Regions from separate parts of the Homo sapiens genome. Here regions 2 and 3 are each linked to region 1. Evidence: promoter capture Hi-C in 16 types of primary human blood cells and fetal thymus (Javierre and others, 2016). All regions are on one chromosome and are shown on one strand. The core of a region is centred on a gene start or on the middle of the fragment in contact, and the rest is flanking DNA. Distances in the headings are between cores, read along the strand shown.

The links. The method cuts DNA at HindIII sites, captures the fragments that hold promoters and counts their contacts. A CHiCAGO score of 5 or more calls a contact.
Region 2: a contact is called between a fragment that was not itself captured here and the fragment with the promoter of ZNF207 in region 1, in 1 of 17 cell types (neutrophils). The highest score is 6.2, in neutrophils.
Region 3: a contact is called between a fragment that was not itself captured here and the fragment with the promoter of ZNF207 in region 1, in 1 of 17 cell types (neutrophils). The highest score is 6.8, in neutrophils.

Annotation. Positions count from the first base shown.
Region 1 is chr17:32,348,114-32,352,291 of GRCh38, reverse strand. ZNF207 (zinc finger protein 207) reads right to left here and starts at 2,135. Exons shown (of 12, transcript NM_001098507.2): 1 at 1,966-2,135; 2 at 380-506. The coding sequence starts at 2,006. MIR632 (microRNA 632) reads right to left here and starts at 2,183; the gene lies at 2,090-2,183. It also overlaps a transcript of C17orf75 not described here. RefSeq lists enhancers at 2,046-2,395, 2,566-2,685. The HindIII fragment of the contact is 13,651 bases long and covers 1-4,178 here.
Region 2 is chr17:28,652,230-28,656,407 of GRCh38, reverse strand. It overlaps SDF2 (stromal cell derived factor 2), which reads left to right. Exons shown (of 3, transcript NM_006923.4): 2 at 925-1,121. It also overlaps the pseudogene RPS12P28. Among named protein-coding and RNA genes, the nearest start is that of SDF2, 7.6 kb to the left of the region's middle. The HindIII fragment of the contact is 2,882 bases long and covers 862-3,743 here.
Region 3 is chr17:28,673,258-28,677,435 of GRCh38, reverse strand. It overlaps SUPT6H (SPT6 homolog, histone chaperone and transcription elongation factor), which reads right to left. Exons shown (of 37, transcript NM_003170.5): 2 at 3,926-4,065; 3 at 2,995-3,153; 4 at 2,823-2,899; 5 at 2,274-2,466; 6 at 1,951-2,035; 7 at 1,006-1,279. The coding sequence starts at 4,034. Among named protein-coding and RNA genes, the nearest start is that of SUPT6H, 13 kb to the right of the region's middle. The HindIII fragment of the contact is 1,912 bases long and covers 1,973-3,884 here.

The DNA.
Region 1 (4,178 bases), core at 886-3,385:
AGAAATAAATGATTATTCTTTCGGCCAGGCGCGGTGGCTCACGCCTGTAATCCCAGCACTCTGGGAGGCCCAGGTGGGTGGATCACCTGAGGTCAGGAGTTCGAGACCAGCCTGGCCAACATGGTGAAACCCCAGTCTCTACTAAAAATACAAAAAATTAGCCGGGCATGGTGGCGGCTGCCTGTAGTCCCAACTACTCCGGAGGCTGAGGCAGAAGAATAGCTTGAACCCGAGAGGCAGAGGTTGCAGTGGGCCGAGATTGCACCACTGCACTCCAGCTTGGGCGACAAGACCGAAACTCAAAAAAATAAAAAAGATTATTCTTTCAAGTTGTTTCCAAATCACAAGCGGACAATAAATACAGAAGAAAAATCCTTACCTGCATGCAATGAATAGCTAAGCCAGGTCCTGTATACAATTTCTTGTGACATATATGGCATTTAAAATGCTTTGCTTTTTGGTGCTGAATAAGGATCTTCTCATCATCAAAATCTCTATTACAATACCTGATCAATACTGTTAAGGCACAAAGACAGCCTAATGATGACACTGCCTATAATAAAAACATATGGATAACATTACAATATGGGAACAGCTAAAACCAAAATGGTACTGTATAGAAACTCTGCTTTTTATATTTATTACACAATTAGGGACTACACTTGCCATGTTATTTCAGTATTTTCAATTTCCTAGAAGGCCAGCTCTCTTCACCACCCCAAAAAACACATCTCAATAATCAGCAATATACTTTGTCAAATTCCTGTGTTTAACAGAGATGTCGGTGAAACTTTTGTTATAAATATTTCAACATTTACAAATGCACACTGAGGACAGGAAAGAGTTCAGTTAAGAAATCCCTAAGGTTCTGTCAAGACAATTACTTCACTAGATATGAAGACGATAGCAATAACTGGATTAGGAATTTAGCAATATTTAGAATCTAAGAGTAACTATATGGTGAACAATAATCACATAATTTCGAATGAACAATCCATAAAGTTGTTTCCAATTCCGTATGAATTTATGTTGCCAAGCAATGTATTTAAATTCACAGATCAATAAAATCAATAAAGCAGAATTCTTACATCAATAAAACAGAATTCTTACCTCACTACTCAGATTTTCCTAAAATCACATTACAAAATTCGTAACCGTATTTAAGCTATTTTTAAAACTGTTACATAAACGCAGTACTGTAACAAGCCGCCTTTACGTACAAAACAGTAAATAAAATCAATTTTAATGTAAAGAATATTAACGCTTCCAGAAAAAGCATTAATACCACACTGTAGTAAGAGTTTTCCTAATAAGATAGGCACTTTTTAGTCCTACAAAGTTGGGTAACAGAAACTCCGCCCTGTGAGAACGCTTCCTGAAGATTAAGGCGCCTCTGGGTGAGACACGGAAGCTAGTTCTCCTCCCGCCCCGAAAAGAAAAAAAAAAAAAAAAAGGTTCGAAACCAGGGTTGACTAACTTGGTTCTTTACTAAACCGCCAATTCGAAAAAATAAACACAAAACACACATAAAGTAAATAAAAACAGAAAAAGTGGGTGACAGACTGTGAAGCTGTCCCCAACCCTCCATGAAAGTAATAAGCCTATCGCACTCGAAGAAAAGTCCCTTGTTGAATCGTCACCAAAACAACGGAAGGTGGCTGAATAGTCCCTAGGGGACACTGTCCCTGGCGGAGGGGTCCAGGCCGCCTCCCGGAGTCCAAAATTCGCACCGAACAAGATCCTCCTGAGTCACAGAGTCACACGACCCACAACTGCAAAAGCCTGTCGACCTCGGAACCCCATTTTCCTAGAAGCCTTCCCAAGTCCAATCCCAGCCACCAGGCCACCCACGCAGACGCCTAAATACAAACGCTCCACGCCGTAAGCCAAATCCAGGCCTCCTAGTCCCAGGCCCCAACAACCGGCACCCCAACGCGACCTCGACTTCAAACCGACAAAGGATACCAGCACCACGGCTTCAGCTGCTTCTTCTTCTTGCGACCCATAACTGTGTTCTACCGGCAAAGTAAAAGGGAGGAGAAAAGAAGCAGGAGAAACGAGGCCAAAAATCCCTCACTTTCCCAACCCAACGGCTACCACCACGTCCCACAGGAAGCAGACACAAAATGGCCGACGGCCTCGTTCCCCGCTCCGCCTCCCGTCAAGCACTGCGGTAGGAGGCGGAGCCAAGAAGGGGAGGGTCACATGACGCAGACCTCCGCCCTGAGTGGGTGGGACTAAGAGGCGCGAAGAGGTGGCAGCCATCTTGTCCGTTTCAGAGTTTTTCGCTTTCGCTGGCTGTGCTTGCGGAGCACTTTGGGTTTCATTTGTAAAGGAGCCGGAGCCCCAGGTACGCTAAGGGGCATGCGAATGGAAAACAGAAAACAAAAAAACGGAAAAGATTGCCAGTGCAGTTAGGGCCGATCACAAATAAAGATAGAGACAGCGCCCAATTTTAATTTTGTTTCAATTGAACAGTAAATGTTGATTATGTGCCTATTAAATGCTAAACCAAATAAGTTAGTCTCTGCTTTGTAACTCGCAGATTGGTGACAGACGAGTACACAATGCAGAGTTCTCAGTGCGGCGTTGAGGGAAATGCGAAGTGCTGTAGGACCTCAGAGAGCGGGAGTCCTAGGGCGGCTGTAGTGGTAGTGGTCGTTGGGTTGTCAAGTAAAGTTTTGTTTTTCTTTGTTTTGTTTTATTTTTCTGAGACCAAGTCTCGCTCTGTCTCCCAGGCTGGAGTGCAGCGGCGCGATCTCTGCTCACTGCAACCTCCGTCTCCCGGGTTCAAGCGATTCTCCTACCTCAGCCTCCCGAGTAGCTGGGACTGCAGGCCCGCGCCACCAAGCCCGGCTAATTTTTGTATTTTTAGTAGAATGGGGTTTCACCATGTTAGCGAGGCTGGTCTCGAACTCCTGGGCTCAAGTGATCCGCCCGCCTCGGCCTCCCAAAGTGCTGGATTGCAGGCTTGAGCCGCTGCGCCCGACATAAGAAAGGTTTCTTGAGGAGTCAACGGGAGCAAGCAAGGTGAAGGAAAGGGTATCTCCGTAAGGGAGCAAAGAGTTTAAGTCTTTGAGGCTGGGCACGTGAAAAACTAATCGTGGTAAGACTGGAGCTGATAGCCGGGCGCGGTTGCTCACGCCAGTAATCCCAACACTATGGGCCAAGGCCGAGGCAGGCGGATCACTTGAGGTCAGGAGTTCGAGACCAGCCTGGCCGACATGGTGAAACCCTGTCTCTACTAAAAATACAAAAATTAGCCAGGCGTAGTGGCAGGCGCCTGTAACCTCAGCTACTCGGGAGAATGAGGCAGGAGAATCACTTGGACCTGGGAGGTGAAGGTTGCAGTGAGCCGAGATCTCGCCATTGCATTCCAGCCTGGGTGACAGAGTGAGACTCCGTCTCAAAAAAAAAAAAAAAAGACTGGAGCTGTCAGTGAAGGTGCTGGTCACAAGAGATAATCCTAGGGAGGCTAGCAAAGGCGGGTTCTGGCGAACCCTAGAAGCATTCTCAGAAGTTGGATTTCAGCTGAAGTCTCTGAGAAGGCACAGTGGTTCTAAGAGGGCAACTGGAGGATCATGCAAGTGAGAGGTGGTTAAAAGTCCAGTGCTTGGGTTCATAGTCCACCAGTGCCACTGCTTAGCTGCCTGACTTTGGGCAAGGCAGTTAAACTTCATCTTGGCTGCACTTAAAACAGAGCTTAGCATATAATAATAACTAGTAATGTAAATTATGTTACTATTAAAAGCAAAAAATAATAGCAGACATCCATGGAGCACCTACCGTGTGCCAAGCATTGTAGTGAGTTTTAACATTATTTGTCTCAGCCTCTGGGGTAGGAGCCATTATTGTCAACTTGTTAATAGAGATGAGATAAAAGAGACTTAAGAGAGCTGGAATAATTTGCCCCAAAACACAAAGTATGTGTGGAGCTGAATTAAATTTGAATTTTAAAGGATCAGTTTGGGCTGTGCGCAGTGGCTCACACCTGTAATCCCAGCACTGTGGGAGGCTGAGGCGGGTGGATCACCTGAGATCAGGAGTTGAAGACCAGCCTGGCCAACATGGTGAAACCCGGTCTTTACTAAAAATACCAAAAAAAAATTAGCCAGGCGTGGTGGGGCACGCCTGTAATCCCAGCTACTCCGGAGGCTGAGGCAGGAGAATCGCTTGAA
Region 2 (4,178 bases), core at 1,053-3,552, 3.7 Mb after region 1:
CCATGTTGCCCAGGCTGGTCTTGAATTCCTGGGCTCAAGCAATCCAACTGCCTCAGCCTCCCAAAAAGTGCTAGGATTACAGGTGTGAGCCACCACACCCAGCCTAAAAAATTTTTTTTTTATTTAAAAGAAGAAAAAGGCTGGGCACAGTGGCTCACCATCAATCCCAGCACTTTGGGAGGTCAAGTTTCACTCCCAGAGTGCTGGGATTACAAGCGTGAGCCACCACGCCCAGTATGATTTGTATTTTTTATAAATATTTTAATGTTGTAGAAGAAAAAATATTGCCAAGCATAGCATTTTTCTCCCCACCCCTTCTTACCTGTTTAATGACACGGCACAATATTGGCCATAGGCAAGAAGGGTGAGGCTGAGCTCACTTGCTGTTTTTTTTTTTGAGGAATGGGTACCAAATTTATTTGTTAATTTCTTGCATTTGAAGTACACAGTCACATCCTTGGCCTGAAATTCTTTGCTGTAGCCCTTCACTGTGACACAACTGCAACCAACCACTTTACAAAGTTTTCCTTGTCTATCAGTTTTACAAAGGCTTAGCCATGTCTCTGGTTTCTTAAGGTCATCAACCTTAATTGGGTTGATTTGGTGTTCGGCACAAAGGGCCACCCCTAGCTTGACATACATAGGCTCTTCACATTTGGATGCAAGCACGCAAAGATGGGCTTGGCCCTTGTCTAAGGCTTTGGCAGCTTTGCAGGTTCCACCTGCTAGGCCATCATGGCTGAGGGCGGTCTTCAGTCTCTTGTAGAGCAGTATTAATATCCATTACACCTCCAGCAGCGTGTCTTCCTTGGTCATGGTGGTGGGTTACAGGTGAAGGTGAATCTTGAGCGCACTCAAGCTTCTGTCTCTGAGCATGTTGTCCATGGCAGAGAAAGAGAGTTGCCTTTCTTTTCTTAACTGCAGGTAGTGGGCAGCAGTCAGTGACAGGTGTAACCTCTGTGGATGACAGCAACAGTTACTGGAGGATACGGGGGAAGAGTGCCACAGTGTGTGAGAGGGGAACCCCCATCAAGTGTGGCCAGCCCATCCGGCTGACACATGTCAACACTGGCCGAAACCTCCATAGTCACCACTTCACTTCACCTCTTTCTGGAAACCAGGTGAGGTGGCTTTCGATGGATTGTTGCTGCTCTGCATTACTCAGTGGGTGCTTGTTTGATCTCTTGGTTCTTAAATGTTTCTTTTCTAGGTGTAGATGTTCTCTTTTGTGCAGACCTGGGGAAATGGCTCTATTTTTGTGTGGGTTTTTGTTGTTTTTGAGACGCAGTCTCACTCTGTCACCCAGGCTGCAGTGCAGTGGCATGATCTTGGCTCACTGCAACCTCCGCCTCTGGGTTCAAGCAAGTCTCCTGCCTCAGTCTCCCAAGTAGCTGGGATTACAGGCGCATGCCACCATGCCTGGCTAATTTTTGTTTTTATTTTTATTTTTTTGAGATGGAGTCTCACTCTGTCACCCAGGCTGGAGTGCAATGGCATGGTCTCAGCTCATTGCAACCTCTGCCTCCTGCGTTCAAGCGGTTCTCCCACCTCAGCTGCCCGAGTGGCTGGGACTACAGGCGTGTGCCACCACACCTGGCTAATTTTTTTTTTTGTATTTTTAGTAGAGATGGGGTTTCACTGTGTTGGCCAGGCTGGTCTCGAACTCCTGACCTTGTGATCTGCCCACTTCGGCCTCCCAAAGTGCTGGGATTACAAGTGCAAGTCACCGCGCCTGGCCTGATTTTTGTATTTTTAGTAGAGATGGGTTTTCACCATATTGGTCAGGCTGGTCTCGAACTCCTGACCTCAGGTGATCCACCCGCCTCTGCCTCCTGGAAGTGTTGGGATTATAGGCATGAGCCACTGCACCCAGCCGGCTTTGTTTTATAAGTGTGAAGAAAATTGTTTCTGGTCAAAGTGGAGACAACAACTAAACCAAATCAAGAAATGGGAAGGACAGACAGACTGGGTATACATCAGCATATCATAAGTTCTGATATTCTGCAATAAAGAAACCCAATGTTTTCCAACTTGCAGTGTTTTTTTTTTTTTTAATGATGCTAACTAGTTACATTAGGAAAATAGATTTGCTTTTGTGTCACTGTTTTTTGTTTTTAAACAGGGTCTTGCTCTGTCACCCAGGTTGTAGTGTGATCTTGCTCACTGCAGCCTCAGCCTCCTGGGCTCAAGCAATTCTCCCACCTCAGCCCTCACTACAGGCTCACGCCACCATGCCTGGCTAATTTTTGTATTTTTTTTGGTAGATACGGGGTTTTGCCATGTTGCCTAGGCTGGTCTCAAACTCCTGAGCTCAAGCTATCTGCCTGCCTCAGCCTCCCAAAGTGCTGGGATTACAAGCATAAGCCAGTACACCCAGCCTTGTGCCACTGTTTTAAGCCTTGAGTTGTCAGGGGATGTGGACACCTTAATGACTCCTTCCCTGTCCCCAGCCCCTGTATGCAGTTTTCCCTATTAATATCTTACCTTCGAAGGGTAAATTTGCTATATTTAATGAAGCAATATTGATACAGTTTTATTAACTAAAGACCATAGTTTTTTTCTGATTCCCTTGTTTTGTTTTGTTTTGTTTTGTTTTTTGAGACAGAGTCTCGCTCTGTCCCAGGCTGGAGTGCTATGGCGCGATCTCAGCTCACTGCAACCTCCGCCTCCCAGGTTCAAGCTATTCTCTTGCCACAGCCTCCTGAGTAGCTGGGATTACAGGTGCCTGCCACCACGCCCGGCTGATTTTTGTATTTTCAGTAGAGACGGGGTTTCACCATGTTGTCCAGGTTGGTCTCGAGCTCCTGACCTTGTGATCCACCCACCTTGGCCTCCCAAACTGCTGGGATTACAGGCGTGAGGCCTCCGTGCCCGGTCCCTTAGTTTTTACCTAATGTTCTTTTTCCATTCCAAAATACCACATTACATATACTTGCCATGTCTCATTAGGCTGTTCTTGGCTGTGACAGTTTTTCAGGCTTCCCTAGTTTTTGATGACCTTGACAGCTTTGAGGAGTGCTGGTCAGGTGTATTGTAGATTGCCCCTCTGTTGGAATTTGTTTTTCTTGTGATTAGACCGGACTTATAAAGGGTTTGGGAGGAAGATCACAGAGGTAAAGTGCCATTTGTATCCCATCATATCAGGGGTACATACTATCTTTATGATTTATGACTGTTGATGTGGACCTTGATTACCTGGCTGAAGTAGTGTTTGTTCGTTAGGTTTCTCCTGTAAAGTTATTCTTTTCATTTTCCCCCTTTCCATGCACTTTTTGGAAGAAAGTCACTATGTGCATTTCACTCTTACAGACTGGAGAGTTATACTCTGTCTACATTAGGGTGGAATATCTACATATTTTATTTGGGATTTTTCCATATTGGGGATTTGTCTCTTTTCCCCAATTTATTTATTTATTCAGTTATTTACATTAGTATAAACTTATGGATAGTTTATACTTCGTTATAATCTAATGCTACTATATTTTGTTGCTCAAATTGTTCCAACTTTGGCCATTGGGAATTCTTTCAGCTGGCTTTGTGTCCATTGGCAGTATCCCATTGTGTTTTTGTGTATATGTGCCTGCACTTTAAAGCACTTCTTTCCTTTCTGGCACCAAAAGATGCTCCAGGCTCATCTTGTTTATTTCTTGCTCCAGTACTAGAATCAGCTGTTTCTCCAAGGAGCTCTGCTTCCTTTTATTGGAGAATGATATTAAAACCAAGTTCTAGGCCTTATGTAAGCTTGTTGCTACTGGAGTGTTTCTTTTAGGCCCTCTCACTTGACAGAATAAATAACTGTAAGCCAGGCGCAGTGGCTCACACCTATAATCCCGGCACTTTGTGAGGCAGAGGTGGGTGGATCACAAGGTCAGGAGTTCGAGACCAGCCTGGCTAACATGGTGAAACCCCGTATCTACTAAAGTACAAAAATTAGCTGGGCATGGTGGCGGGAGCCTGTGATCCCAGCTACTTGGGAGGCCGAGGTAGGAGAATCGTTTGAACCTGGGAGGCGGAGGTTGCAGTGAGCCGAGATTGCACCATTGCATTCCAGCCTGGGTGACAGGGCGAGACTCTGTCTCAAAAAAAAATTAAAAAAATAAAGAATTGTTACCTGTGTGTGCTTACTCGTGTATATATTACATATCTATAAATTTTTATTTGCATAGCCATCTGTATCT
Region 3 (4,178 bases), core at 1,679-4,178, 3.7 Mb after region 1:
GTAGCTAGGATCATAGGTGCCCGCCACCACGCCCAGCTGATTTTTTTTTTTTTGAGATGGAGTCTCGCTCTGTTGCCCAGGCTGGAGTGCAATGGCGCGATCTCAGCTCACTGTAACCTCCGCCTCCCAGGTTCAAGGAATTCTCCTGCCTCAACCTCCCAAGTAACTGGGATTACAGATGCATGCTGTCAACGCCCAGCTAATTTTTTTTTTTTTTTGTATTTTAGTAGAGACAGGGTTTTACCATGTTGCCCAGGCTGGCCTCTAACTCCTGAGCTCAGGCAATCCACCCACCTTGGCCTCCCAAAGTGCTAGGATTACAGGCGTGAGTCACCGTGCCTGGCCGCCCAGCTAATTTTTTACATTTTTAGTAAAGACGGGGTTTCACAATGTTGGCCAGGCTGGTCTCGAACTCCTGACCTCAGGTGATCCACCCACCTTGGCCTTCCAAAGTGCTGGGATTACAGGTGTGAACCACCGTGCCTGGCCATAAGCATTTCATGGTTTTTTTTTTTTGAGACAGGGTCTGCTTCTAGGCTGCAGTGCAGTGGTGCAATGATGGCTCACTGCAGCCGTGACCTCCCAAGTTCAAGCAATCTTCCCACCTCAGCCTCCTGAGTGGCTGAAACTACAGGTGTGCACCATCACAACCAGCTAGTTTTTTGTATTTTTTGTAGAGACAAGATCTCCCTATGTTGCCCAGGCTGGTCTTGAGTTCCTGGACTCAAGCAATCTGCCACCCTGGCCTCCTAAAGTGCTGGGATTATAGGTGTGAGCCACAGCACCCAGACTGCATTTCACAGATTTCTAAAGAAAACAGTATTTCTAGAACCGTAAGCAAGGTAGAGTCTATCTTCCCTTCTCTAAGAGCTGGATTTCCCAGGCCCCAGGTGAGATGAGGTTCAAACCTGTGCTGGATACTCAATGCCAGACTTTTGCTAGAATATTTCTTGGCTACAAGGTAATTATGGATTGGTAGAAGAGCAGAGGCTGGTGGTTTTTTACCTGGAACCTCTCAGGCAGGTCAGTGGCTCGGATTTCATTGTCCTGATCTGTGAGGTGGCTGCTTTCTAGCTCACTGGGCTCATACATTTCAAAGATGCTCCTACGGCTCACACGCTTCTTGGTGGTCTTCTTGGGGCGCACTCGGATTTCACCCTCAGCCTCATCATCCTCATACTCATACTCTTCCTCCAGTTCTTCATCATACTCATTGTATTTCTCAAATTCATCATAGTCAAAGTCCACACCGAAGATTTCCTGGGCTTCTTGCAGGGCCCTGTAGGTGGCAGCAAGAGGCAGGTGGCTCAGGTTCAGGTGAGAGGAGAGAAATGCAGCCCTTGCATAGATCCTTTACTTGTCCCAAGGGAACTGAGAGGGTTAGGAGGAAGGTAAACAAAATAACCATATTCACTGTGGACGAAAGGCTTCATTGGCGGATATTTCTGGGCAAACTATTGTATATGGAAGATTAAAAAGCTCATCTTTGGCACCTTCGAGTGACAGTAATCAAATAGCAACAGAGCAGACGGGTCTATGTCTTGCTCAGTGGACCCATCTTCTGCTAAGGCATTACAGTATTCCCTCAGGGCAAAAGCTTTCAAATTTGTAAATTGTGATGCGGGCATTTGTCTTCCAACAAAAATATATTAAGAATGTCAATATATATATAATTGAATAAACATGGAGCTGTAGGCGGAAGAGGAATGCTGGAGCCTTGCCCATGTGGGACTCTACTCCAATCCCACAGTAGTCCTAGAGTGCAGAGACAGCTCCCAGGGCTTCCGGGAGCAGTCTGAAATCACTGCCTGGTAGAGGTTATTTGAGGCAGGGAAGCAAAATGGCTGCAAGCTGGGAATGCCCCATTTTTGGCAAAGGCCTCTGATCTCCTCCTTCCTGACTGGGCCCACTCAATCACTTTATCCCCACCTTGTACCAGACCCCACTCACGCGTCTGTGTATCCAGGAAGCTTTTTCCGCCACTTAGGTTTTTTCAGAGGCTGTCCATCATCATCCACAATGAAGTCGTCAATATCTGGGTAGGAAAAGGATGGGTTGGGGCTCAGAGTCAGGGGCTGAGCCAGGACTAAATTGCTTTGGTTCCTACTATGTGAGTGGCCAGTGAGCAACAGAGAAGGGAAGCTCCTGAAAAGGAACTTCTTTGTGTCAAATGCTGGGGGATGTAGCTAAAGAATGGTTTCCATCCTGTTCCCATGGGCCAGGAAATCCCAATACCCATCCAAACACTGGCTTCCCTGCCCAATATAACATACCTGACTCCTCATCATCTTCTTCCTCCTCCTCTGGAGGAGCCATGGGGGCCTCCATGGCCTCCTGCCCTTCTTCCCCTTCCCCATCCTGGAAGATTTCTTCCGCAATAGCTTCTTTTTCATGTTCCTCCTTGCCATATTCCTCCTCGTCATCGTCCTCGTCATCTGACATTTTTTTGACACGCCGGTACTTTTGCTAGGGGTGGGAAAACCTGCCTTATCAGGATCTGAGGAGTCTGGCATACGGATACCAAATCTCCAGTCTCACTCCCTTCTTCCCACCACAATTACTCTGACCAAGAGAGATGGGAAAGAACATGCCGAGTGATGCTCTTGTAGCCTCAAAGCCCATCCTTGAAACTTGGACAAGACTTTCTCTAACAGGCACCCAGATCTGGGATGCAAATCTAGGCTCCGTAGTACAATGATACCGAACACCGTGCTCTAATGTTCTCCAAACTGTCCTGCGTGTGCCTCCTCACCCACAGACATTGAAATTTCCAGGGCTTTTTCCTTTACCCCCAGGGACAAAAGACAAAGAATGACACTTACTCCTCTTTTGACTTTGACACCCAAATTCTCCTCAATGAGGTCAAAATCATCATCCTCCAGGCGGTCATCAAAAGAGGCTGAAGAAACAAAGTGTTGCCCATGGTGATGGGGTTGCCCTTTTCCACTGCAACCTCCACCCAAGCCTCACTTGAGCCAACGACAGACTACTCACTGCGTTTTCTCTTCTTGTGGCCAACATCATCTTCTGAATCACCAGAGTCACTGCCCTCATCCTCCTCCCCTTCATCTTCATCATCATCGTCATTGATAAAGCCTTTCAAGTTGCCTTGCTCATCCTGATCATCTAGGTTCTCCTCCTCCTCCTCCTCATCTGGAAGACATGCATGTTTGAGGCATGGAGACTGAAAAACAGGCTAGAGGTTCAGGGTCACTTGATTAATGTGATTATCCATTTGCTCTGCACCTAATGACCTGGGTGCCATGTTAACTCTTCTGCCTCATGTAAAGATGCAAAACATAGCCATTGACTTAGAGTAGCAGCATCTGGAAAGAATGTTTTCTTCCCCTACATTCACCATCTGTCTTTGGGCAGGATGATCTTCCCCGTCACTTTGGCTTCTCAAAATCATTACTAGATTATTATAGCCACCAATAACTTTGTTTTACTCAGTTTGTAAACTCAGCAGCTATATTCCTTTTTTTTGCCATAATTCCTTTGATAAAACTTGTACGTCCCTTTACCCCTTTGAAGTCATTTCGTGGTTCTACTCTGTTGACAATTCTAAAGATTGGGCTTGGCCAGAGAAATAGGAAACGAGGTGAATAAATATCAACAATGCTAGGTCTAAAAGCAGAAAGTATTATATACAGACTTATCTACTGATTTATTATCAACCACCCCCCAACTAAAGTAAACTCCACAATAGCTGGATATTTATTGTTTTATATTTCTAGTTCCAGGCCTAGTGCCTGGCATACAGACAGATGCTCAGTTAGTATCTGCTAAGAATGACTGAAAGTTCTCAAGCTGGTACCTCATGTGTGATAACTTCTGTGCTGAGCCTGAGCTTTTCATCAGCAAGAATCCAACTATCCAAAGCTTAGCAATAGTGGGGAGAAGCTTGAGGCTGGGGCCTCCTCACCATCATCCTCCTCTTCCACAAATTTCTTGGTGACTCGGGGTACCACCTCGCCTTCATCATTGTATTCTTCCTCTGACTCCTCAGCCTCGCTTTCCACAAAATCAGACATTGCTGCAGCTTCTCACTCTGCCTGAAGATAACTAGGGAAAGAAAAGAGTGAAGGATAAAAAAACGGACACATGATTGTACAGAGGGCTCTTAAACCTTCCCACAAACAGCCTTTTAGCAACCTGCCACTGCTCTGCCCACTCAA